Regions from separate parts of the Homo sapiens genome. Here region 1 is linked to region 2. The links are contacts of gene promoters, found by promoter capture Hi-C in blood cells and fetal thymus (Javierre and others, 2016). All regions are on one chromosome and are shown on one strand. Each heading gives the region's core, a stretch centred on a gene start or on the middle of the fragment in contact. The rest is flanking DNA. Distances are from core to core; before and after follow the strand shown. Region 1 overlaps TSNAX-DISC1 (TSNAX-DISC1 readthrough (NMD candidate)). Region 2 holds the start of FAM89A (family with sequence similarity 89 member A).

What was found. Contacts are between HindIII fragments. The CHiCAGO score rates a contact against its expected background, and 5 or more counts as called.
Region 1: a fragment that was not itself captured here is called in contact with the fragment with the promoter of FAM89A in region 2 in 1 of 17 cell types (naive CD8 T cells); the score reaches 6.5 in naive CD8 T cells.

The regions. Positions count from the first base shown.
Region 1 is chr1:231,606,098-231,611,455 of GRCh38, forward strand. The region is part of intron 4 of TSNAX-DISC1 (TSNAX-DISC1 readthrough (NMD candidate)); the gene reads left to right. All of the region lies in intron 1 of LINC00582 (long intergenic non-protein coding RNA 582), which reads right to left. Among named protein-coding and RNA genes, the nearest start is that of LINC00582, 3.3 kb to the right of the region's middle. The HindIII fragment of the contact is 5,541 bases long and covers 222-5,358 here.
Region 2 is chr1:231,036,912-231,041,905 of GRCh38, forward strand. FAM89A (family with sequence similarity 89 member A) reads right to left here and starts at 3,343. Exons shown (of 2, transcript NM_198552.3): 1 at 3,010-3,343. The coding sequence starts at 3,300. RefSeq lists an enhancer at 2,021-2,702 and silencers at 2,365-2,444, 3,085-3,134, 3,395-3,504. The HindIII fragment of the contact is 3,223 bases long and covers 1,726-4,948 here.

The DNA of each region.
Region 1 (5,358 bases), core at 1,742-4,241, 570 kb after region 2:
GCCTTCATGCTGCACCAAGACACTGCACGTACTAAATGCTCCACTTTTAGGAATGCTTAATTGTCCTGTCTGGGTCCACTCACTCCAGTTACTCCAGCTCACCCTGGGAGGCAGTAAGCCATCCCAAGAACCATGGTTAGGACCATAGGTCCTGGAGTCCCCAAGATGTCCAGCTCCATTGCTTACATCCTAGACATAGGCATGGTATTTAACCTCTTTAAAGCTTCAGTTTCCCCATTTGTGAAATGGGGGTAATTGCATCACTACTAAATCTGTAGCATTCTTTTGAGAACTGAAAAAAATGGTCAAAGTAAAGCCCTTGGCATAATGGTAACAGACAATAGATAAGCTCTTAATTTTAAAAAATGTTTAAAAATTTTTTCGAGACAGGGTCTCACTCTGTCTCCTAGGCAGGAGTGCAGTGGTGCTATCACAGCTCACTGCAGCCTCGAACTCCTGGGCTCAAGTGATCCTCCCATCTCAGCCTCCCGAGTAGCTGGGACTACAGGTGCTGGCACCATACCTGGCTAGTTTCGTTGATTTTAATTTTTTGGCAGAGTCTCGTTATGTTGCCCAGGCTTGTCTCAAACTCCTGGGCTCAAGCGATCCTCCCGCCTCATCTTGGTTTCCTGAAATGCGGGGATTAAAATATAAACCACCGTGTCTGGCCGGTAAACTCATTACTGTTGGCTTTTATTATGATTTTTATTTGCCTCCCAGTACCTAGGTATTTAATTATAAGAGGAATGCCCTTTCAGAATCCCTGTCATAGTATTGCAGTTAGCAGGGCTAGCTCCACTGCATTCCTGAGAAGTGATGCTTGGGAGGCTGATATCTCTCCTGCATCCTGCTGCTGCCCTATAAAGGAGGAGGGCAGTGGGGCTCAACTCCCAGCCTGCACACCTCCTCCTCTTCCTTAGCTTGCTGATCTTTCTCTTAAGGGCTTTTTCCTCCCTCTGCCTACCCCGGTAATGACTACCCTCTTTTCCATTTTTTTTAAACTTTTATTTTAGGTTCAGGGTTACATGTAAAAGTTCGTTACATAGGTAAACTCATGTCACAGGGTTTTGTTGTACAGATTATTTGATCACCCAGGTATTAAGCCCAGTACCCAATAGTTATCTTTTCTGCTCCTCTCCCCCCACCCACCCTCCACCCTCAAGTAGACACCAGTGTCTGTTGTTTCCTTCTTTGTGTTCATAAGTTCTTGTCATTTAGCTCCTGCTTATAAGTGACAACATGTGGTATTTGGTTTTCTGTTCCTGTGTGACTTTACTAAGGACAATGACCTCTAGCTCCATCCATGTTCCTGCAAAAGACATGATCTTGTTCGTTTTTACGGCTGCTTAGTATTCCACGGTGTGTATGTACCACATTTGCTTTATTCAATCTGTCATTGATGGTCATTCAGGTTGATTCCATGTATTTGCTATTGTGAATAGTGTTGCAGTGAACATTCGCGTGCATGTGTCTTTATGGTAGAATGATTTATATTCCTCTGGGTATACACCCAGTAATGGGATTGCTGGGTCAAATGGTAGTTCTGCTTTTAGCTCTTTGAGGAATCGCCATACTTCTTTCCATAATGGTTGAACTAATTGACACTCCCACCAACAGTGTATAAATGTTCCCTTTTCTCTGCAGCCTAGCAGCATCTGTTATTTTCTGACTTTTTAATAATAACCATTCTAACTGGTGTGAGGTGGTATCTCACTGTGGTTTGAATTTGCATTTCTCTAATGATTAGTGGTATTGAGCTTTCTTTCATATGCTTGTTGGCCGCATGTATGTTTTCTTTTGAAAAGTGTCTGTTCATGTCCTTTGCCCACTTTTTAACGGGGTTGTTTGTTTTTCTCTTGCAAATTTAAGTTCCTTATAGATGCTGGATATTAGACCGTTGTCAGATGCATAGTTTGCCAGTATTTTTTCCCATTGTGTATGTTGTCTGTTTACTCTGTTGGTAGATTCTCTTGCTGTGCAGAAGCTCTTAAGTTTAATTAGATACCACTTGTCAATTTTTGCCTTTGTTGCGATTGCTTTTGGTGTCTTTGTCATGAAATCTTTGCTCATTCTTTTTTTTTTTTTTTTTTTTTTTTTTTTTTCAGACAAAGTCTCGCTCTATCGCCCAGGCTGGAGTGCAGTGGCACAATCTTGGCTCACTGCAACCTCCGCCTCCTGGGTTCAAGCAATTCTCCTGCCTCAGCCTCCAGAGAAGCTCAGACTACAGGCGCACACTGCCACACCCAGCTAATTTTTTGTATTTTAGTAGAGACGGGGTTTCACCATGTTGCCCAGGCTGGTCTCAAACTCCTGAGCTCAGGCAATCCACCTGCCTCAGCTTCCCACAGTGTTGGGATTACAGGCGTGAGCCATCGTGCCCAGCCTCTCTGCCCATTCTTATGTCCCGAAGGGTATTGCCTAGGTTGTCTTGTGGGATTTTTATAGTTTTGGGTTTTACATTTAAGTCTTTAATCCATTGTGAATTGATTTTGTATATGGTGTAAGGAAGGGGTCCAGCTTCAATCTTCTACATGTGGCTAGCCAGTTATCCCAGCACCATTTATTGAATAGGAAGTCTTTTCCCCATTGCTTGTCTTTGTCTAGTTTGTTGAAGATCAGGTGGTTGTAGGCATGCAGCATTATTTCTGGGCTCTCTATTTTGTTCTATTGATCTATGTGCCTGTTTTTGTACCAGTACCATGCTGTTTTGGTTACTGTAACCCTGTAGTATAGTTCAAAGTCAGGAACCATAATTTCTCTGGCTTTGTTCTTTTTGCTTAGGATTGCCTTGGCTATTCAGGCTCTTTTTTGGTTCCATATTATTATTGTTTTGGAGTCTCACTCTGTTGCCCAGGCTGGAATGCAGTGTCACAATCTTGGCTCACTGCAACTTCTGCCTCCTGGTTTCAAGCGATTCTCCTGCCTCAGCCTCTCAAGTAGCTGGGATTACAGGTGCATGCCACCATACCTGGCTAATTTTTGTAATTTTAGTAGAGACGGGGTTTCACCATATTGTCCAGGCTGGTCTCGAACTCCTGACCTCAGGTGATCCACCCACCTCAGCCTCCTAAAGTGCTGGGATTACAGGCATTGGGCACTGCGCCTGACCCCATATTAATTTTAAAGTAGTTTCTTTTTTCTAGTTCTGTGAACAATGTCATTGGTAGTTTGATAAGAATAGCATTGAATCTGTACGTTGCTTTGGATTGTATGGCCATTTTAATAATATTGATTTTTCCTATCCATGAGCATGGGATGTTTTTCCATTTGTTTGTGTCTTCTCTGATTTCTTTGAGCAGTGTTGGAGATCTCTCACCTCCCTGGTTAGCTGTATACCTAGGTATTTTATTCTTTTTTTGTGGCAATTGTGAATGGGATTGCCTTTCTGATTTGGCTCTCAGCTTGACTGTTGTTGGTTTATAGGAATGCCAATGATTTTTGTACATTGATTTTGTATCCTGAAACTTTGCTGAAGTTGTTTATCAGCTGAAGGGCTGAGACTCTCTGCCTAATTATAACCATGTTACAGTATCTGAAAGAACCTTCTCTTGGCTGGGTGCAGTGGCTCACGCCTGTAATCCCAGCACTTTGGGAGGCCGAGGCAGGGGAATCACCTGAGGTCAGGAGCTTGAGACCAACCTGGCCAACATGGTGAAACCCCGTCTCTACCAAAAAAAAAAAAAATTAGCTGGACATGGTGGTGGGCGCCTGTAATCCCAGCTACTCAGGAGGCTGAGGCAGGAGAATCTCTTGAACCCAGGAGGCGGAGGTTGCAGTGAGCAGAGATCACGCCACTGTACTCCAGCCTGGGCGATAAGAGCAAAACTCTGTCTCAGAAAAAAAAAGAATCTTCTTTTTCTCTTGCTTTCCATTGACAATTCCTCCCCACACTTTCCCTCCCTTCTCTGCAAAACTTCTTGAAAGAGTAGGGAGTATGCTGAACATTTGCTTCTGTGCCATCCATATCCTCCTTAGCACCTTCACCTTTTCAGCCTGCTCCTGGAATTCTACCTGAAACAGCTCCCTTGAAGCAATTCTTCTCTTTTGCCTTCCTACTTGTTCTGTCTTTGCAGTTTTTATTGCCCAATATCTCCCCCCTCACCCACTTTTTTTTTGAGACAGGGTCTGGCTCTGTTGGCCAGGCTGGAGTGCAGTGGCGTGATCACAGCTGACTGAAGCCTTAACCTTCTGGGTTTGAGCAATTCTCCCATCTCAGCCTCCTGAGTAGCTGAGACCACAGGTACATGCCACTGAGCCAGGCTAGTTTTTATTTTTATTTTTTGCAGAGATGGGGTCTCCTACATTGTCCAGATTGTTCTTGAACTCTTGGCCTCAAGCAATCCTCCTGCCTCAACCTCTCAAATCCACAGTGCCCAGTCCCACATCTCCTTTTTGAAACTATTTTTGTCTGGTTTTCATGACTTTGCTCTGGATTGTCACAAGACTAGTAAACTTCCGCAGATGTCTCTAAGTCTCTAACTTGATACTACACTTCTGGAGTGTGGCAGGACCTGGGACATGAACCCAGCTTAGACACAGGGAGGAAGTTGGTGTAAAGAAGGGAACGGGCACAACTGGAGCCAGGGGCCTGATTGGGAAGACTTCTTGGGAGTGCTGCCTTCCCTCTGTTCTGCTTCTCTTCCCATCTCTTACATCTTTTTCTTGCTTGCCTTTCTGATCCAACTTCTTAAAGTTAGTAGGACCCAAGTTTCAGTGTTCCATTCCCATTCAACCTTCTTATCCCTTCTAATACTTCAATGATCATATCTACACAGATAAATGTCTCTTGACCTTTCTCCTGACCATCAGCCCATCATCTCTTATGACTTGCTAGGGACTTCCAACCACATCCATCCCAAATCTCAAACTTAACTTTAGGGGTGCCATTATTTCTTCATACTGCCTTGCACTGTGGTCCTTTCCTCTCAATTCCTTCCACTCCAACTCCCTTCCACTTTCCCACCACCTCTCTCCTGCTTCCCACTTCCAGTCCTCCCAACCCGTACCTGGGCTCCTCATCCTGCTGCCTCTCTTTTCCCTCAGAGTCATCTTTCCCCGAAAGCCTAGTTGGTACAGATTCCCCGCTGCTTCAGAATCTTTAATGGCCCCTTCTTGGTGATGAGAAAAAAGCTCAACCCCTTAGTTAGCCTGGCATTAAAGGCCTTTCACAACCTGGCCTTCACCTTCATCTCTGAAGTCGCCTTCTCTGGATTCTCGCCAAGATGAGCTGTCAGCTGCAGGTTGGGGGTTCTCTTAGACAAGCCATGTGGCTTGACTCTCAATTTTCCTCTTGCCTGAGAGACTCTCCCTGTCTTCTCTCCTCTTTCACAAAGACCACCTGAGCCCATAGTGGTTTTC
Region 2 (4,994 bases), core at 2,093-4,592:
GATTGATTATTAAGCTTCAAAACCTTGCTAACTGCCATACAGTGGTATACTACACACTCACTGAAGTCATTATAATATATCTTGACTGGGAAAATAATTGCAATGTGCAGCCCAAAAAGCAAACCAAAATATATGTGATCAATGTGTTGTATATATGTATGTGTGTGTGTGTGAGAGTGCATGCATGTGCACAGACAGCAGACTGCAATGGTTAAATAGGGCTTTGGAGCCAAAGAGACCTGGTAGGGTCTGTGACCTTATGGGAGTTCAACTCTCAGCATCCAATTCTTTAATATAAAACAGACTTTGAGTATCTATCTCATGGAGAATTTATACCATTAAATAAGATACTATATAGAAAGCACTTACATTGCACCTAACAGAAGATATCCCAAAATACTAAAAGTGATTATTTCTAGGTGCTGGCACTGTAATTTTTAATTTTTTGCTTGGCTACATTTTCCATGAAAAAGCTTAAGTTATCTTTGATCCCCTTTTCATCATCTTCCTTGACTCAGTAATTCCTCCAGCTTCGGCTTCAGAAAAGTGTCTCCCACATGAGTCTTGTTTCACATTAGCAAGCCCCCTACCCTGCTGGGGACTCCATCACCTCTCCCATGAACACCTCTCATCTTCCTGTTGAGCCTCCAAAGTCCAGCTCTCCCTTCTGCACCCTGCTGTAGAATTCATTTCTTCAAAGTCCAACTGGGATAATACCATTCTCCTGCTGAATGCCCATCCTTGCTACTCAGGCTTCTCAGAGTCCACTCGGTCCACCTGCCCAGGCCCTTCTTGCTCACATTTCAAACTGGCGCACTCCCAGTTCCAGCTCCGCAGCTACCTTCCTGGTGCCTCTTTCCCTTGTCGAAATTCTGTCGCCTTCTGAGGTCTTCCACACCACCCTGCTCCCTGTCCCTATTAGAAGTTGCCCCTCTTTCTATGCTTGCTTTAAAAAAAAAAATTTCTTTAAGGCATTTATCACATTCTACCATGACATCTAGTTATGTCCCCTGCCACAGATTTGACGTCAGGCCTTCAATTTAAACAGATCAACACAAACTATTTTGCAGATATCTCAGGAATGAACTCCCAGTTCTTGTTTTGCAAGGCCTCCCCAGAGGGAGTCTCAGCTTGAGTTGTCCACTCAGACCCCATGGCCCCAAGTCAGTAAATCAATTAAAAAGCCGAAAGATTCTCTGGGCAACTTTAAAGGCCTTGTGACATTTCTTGAAAGGAACTTGTCAAAACCTGCAGCCATATCTTATCTTTATCTCAGCTAAATACCAGGCAGACCAAAGATGGCTGTTTATTTTTCTTGTGCTTCAAATAGGCTTACAGAGAGCTCTGGTCCAAGGCGTAATTATACGGATGTGGTTGTGCTTCAGTCACACCAGGAGGGACCTGGAAAAATACTTCTGGGAATGGCACGTTGACTCCCAAGCCACCATAGCAAGACTCCAGAGCATGTTTATAAACCACAGCTTCACAACAGGAGCGGCCCCGAGGTTTTTCTATCTCTTGCTCAAGTATGGAATTTAAATAATCAAAGATGATCTTCCTACTTCACCCCCGTGGTTCTGCTATGTCCAAGTTCAGACTGTAAACACACTACGTGTAGATTTATCTAATTAAAATGCAGTTCACCAGCTGTGTGATGCTTATGTCAATGAATGTTTTTTAATAAATTAAAAACGGTTGGCTTGGAATTTAAGTGGTTCTGTAAGAAGCTTAGAAAATCTTTTCAGTGAGAATTGGAAATCACTTCAATGCCAGCTACAGAGTAGGAAGACAATATCTCTTTGATTAAAAGTGTTAAGGCTGCTTTCTGAATTCAATTAAGTCTTAGTTTTCAGAACAGATAATGCTCCTGAAAAAAAAGTATGCATACCCTGAATTTTTCTAAACAATATCTTAAATGCACTAGATACATATTTAAAAGATTCCTATAACAATTTATTTTTTGGCAAATTTAGTTTTGGGAAAAGGCAGCTTTCCTAATGTTAGATTTCTTAACAATTTACCTATAGGGAAAGGAGACAACCTGGACGAGGTGAATGGAAAGGGAGGCTTTTAAAACGAGGGGATTGGGAGGAGGTGATGGGGGCCAGTAAGATGGTAGAAAAGAGGAAAAGTTTTTGATTTCTTCTTGCCTGGCCTACGCCTGGCCGAGAAAGCTGGGGAAAGACTCGCTGTTGCCTAAATCCCTGCCCTTGTCCTACTTTTAGCGTCACCCTAAATCATGTGTGTTCTGGTCCACAAACAGCTAATGTACTTCCCAAGCACAGAGAAACACTGAGCCCATGGTATGGAGCTTAGACACAAGGCGAAGAACTCACATGGACAGCACCCAGACCGGGAGGACAGCCACCTCCCACCTTTCTCAAGAGGGTTTGGGCAATCAGCTTCGCGGGGCTGAGGGACCCGGCCGCCTCCCTCGCCCGGGGTGCGCGTCTGCTTTCGCAGCCATCTGTGCGCCGGGGCCATCCCGCGGTAATCGGATCACGGACGCGCGGCCTGGGGCGCCGGAAAGGGGGCCGGGCTGTTCCAATCTGCTGTCTACACTGGCGGCGGACAAAAGTTGTCCTCTTCGTGGTAGGAAAACGCAATCGCGTTAATCCGTTGGGCCGCTGTGAAAGCCTTTCCCCCACCGGGAAGGTCTGTTTCACTCGGGGAGAGGTGACAAGGCCGCCCCCGCCCCCAGGCCAGGCACGAACCCCGCACAGCGCTTCCGGGCGCCCAGGTTTCCGAGCCAGCGGGGCCGGACTGAGGGCGCCGGGCATAAGAAAGCCGCCCTCTGCGCGCGGGGCTCTCCCGCGGGGGTTCCAATCGTGGGCACGGAGCACGCGAGAAAAATGGGGGTCGTTGGGAGGACGGCGCCGGCGCCTGGGGCGGAGGAGCCCGAAAGGGCGGGTGGGCGCGGGGACTTCCGGACAGAGCGCGGTCCCCGCGAACTTTCCCGGGACGGCGAGCCCGGCCGGGAAGAGCCCCAGCTCGCGGAGCCCCACTCACCATCTCTTTGCGGAGCAGCGCCAGAGCGGCGTCCAGGTTGGGAGGCTTGGCGGGCAGCGCTGCCGCCCGGGCCCCGCCGCCGCCCGGGCCCCCGCGGCTCAGCTCGTCCTGGATGCGCGACTTCTGCGCGTACAGCCGCTCCAGGTGCCGCCAGCCCCCAGACGCGCCGCCGCCCGACGCCGAGTGCAGCAGCCCGCTCAAGCTCTTTGGCAGCGGGGGCAGCCCGTCCACCCGCAGCCCCCGGACCGCGCCGTTGCCCGCGGCCCCGGGCGCCGCCCGGGCCCCACTCATCGCGCCGCGGCCCGGCCACGCGCCTGCCCCGCTGCAGCGAACCAAGGCTTTCCCCCGGCCCGCCCCCTTCCCGGCGGTGCCCCGCCCACTTCCCCTCCCGCGCCACGCCCCCCCGGCCCCGCCCCCTCTCCTCGAGGCCCCTGCGCGGGCCCCGGGTCCGGGTGGCGTCCGCGTCCAGCAGCCGGGCTCGCCTCCACCCGGGTCTCCTCCTCCCTCGCGCCCCTCCAGCGCCCTAATTCATCTCCAACTCCGCGTGACTACCCTCTAACCCCCCGACTCACCTCCAGCCCCGTCACGAACCCTTCTGTGCCACTCCCTAGCTCCGAACCTACTAAGCCCCCCGCGACCCGCAGCTTCCCGGTTCACCCCCATCTCTGTCCCCACCTCCTCTGAACCACCTCCCAGCTTCCCGGCTCACCCCTAGCTCCGAACCCTCTCACCCGCGCCACCCCGAACCCCAGCTTCCCGGCTCACCCGCATCTCTGTCCCCACCTCCTCTGTGCCAACCCCCAGCTTCCCGGCTCACCCCCAGTTCCGCCCCCACGCCCTCTGTGCCACCCTCAGCTCACTGGCTCACCCTCAGCTCCGAACCCACTCACCCCCCACCCCAGGCTTCCGGATCACCCCCATCTCTGCTCCCACCTCCTCTGTGCCACCCCCAGTTCACTGGCTCGCCCCCAGCCCCGTCTCCACTCCCTCTGTCCCACCCCTCAACGCCCGCTCACCTCCAACCCGGCTCCAGACTTCCCCCTTACCTGCCAGCGCTCCTCAGCTCCTTGCCTCACCGATCCCTGCCCTGCCCAGGGGGCGGCCCAGCTTCAGATCCCACGAAGCAGGCCGTTGCAGGGGGTGGGGGTACCGAGGCTCTGGCTCACAACCGGCAGGACGTCGAGGGCAGGAGGCCTGGCTCTGGTCCCAGGACCCCCGGCCCTCCCCGAGGGCGGAATCCAGCCCGCCTCCTGCTGCCTCCCACTCGCCGCGGGGGGCGGCTGGGGGCCCCAGACCCGGGCAGGTCGCTCCTTGCCGCCGGGCGCGCTGGCCTTCTCAGCACGGCCTTGTCCAGCAGTACCCGCAGCAGTCAGCAAGAACGCCAGACCCACTTTTGAAACTTCAAAACACTAGTAAACATGCCTTTCATTCTGGCCATAAACACAAGAGTAACTCTAAGTGGAAATGTCAGGAAACCAGAGAAAGGGATTAAATCTCGGAAATTATCCATCAGCTCAGGCAAAAATAAACACGACGCACACCTCAGAGGAAAAGAGAAGAGAGAGAGAGACTCTGCCCCTCCCAGGAAAAGTAAAAATGACAGGCAGTTATAACCAGATTAGAGATAGAAAAGATCAAGAAGTAAACGCTACAGCCCAACCGCAGATTAAAAACTAATGCAGTGTATAGATTGGATAACTTTAATGCCCATTCATTATTGGCTTTAATTATAAAGGGATTTAATTTTCTAGCTACATTCAAGGGGATCAAAATTATAAAGTGTTCTGAGCACTTCAGACACCCAACATAAAAGAGCCCTGCACTTTGGGTTGTTTTATACCCTTTACCACCTCCTAGAGCCCACCCCAGAAGCAGTGTCTTTGAAATTGGCACAATATTCTCCCTGGACGGTTGCAAGTGGGTGAGACTGATATGAAGAAGCTTTAGTGCAGGCGGTGTGATTGACAGCACCCAGGCTTCCCACC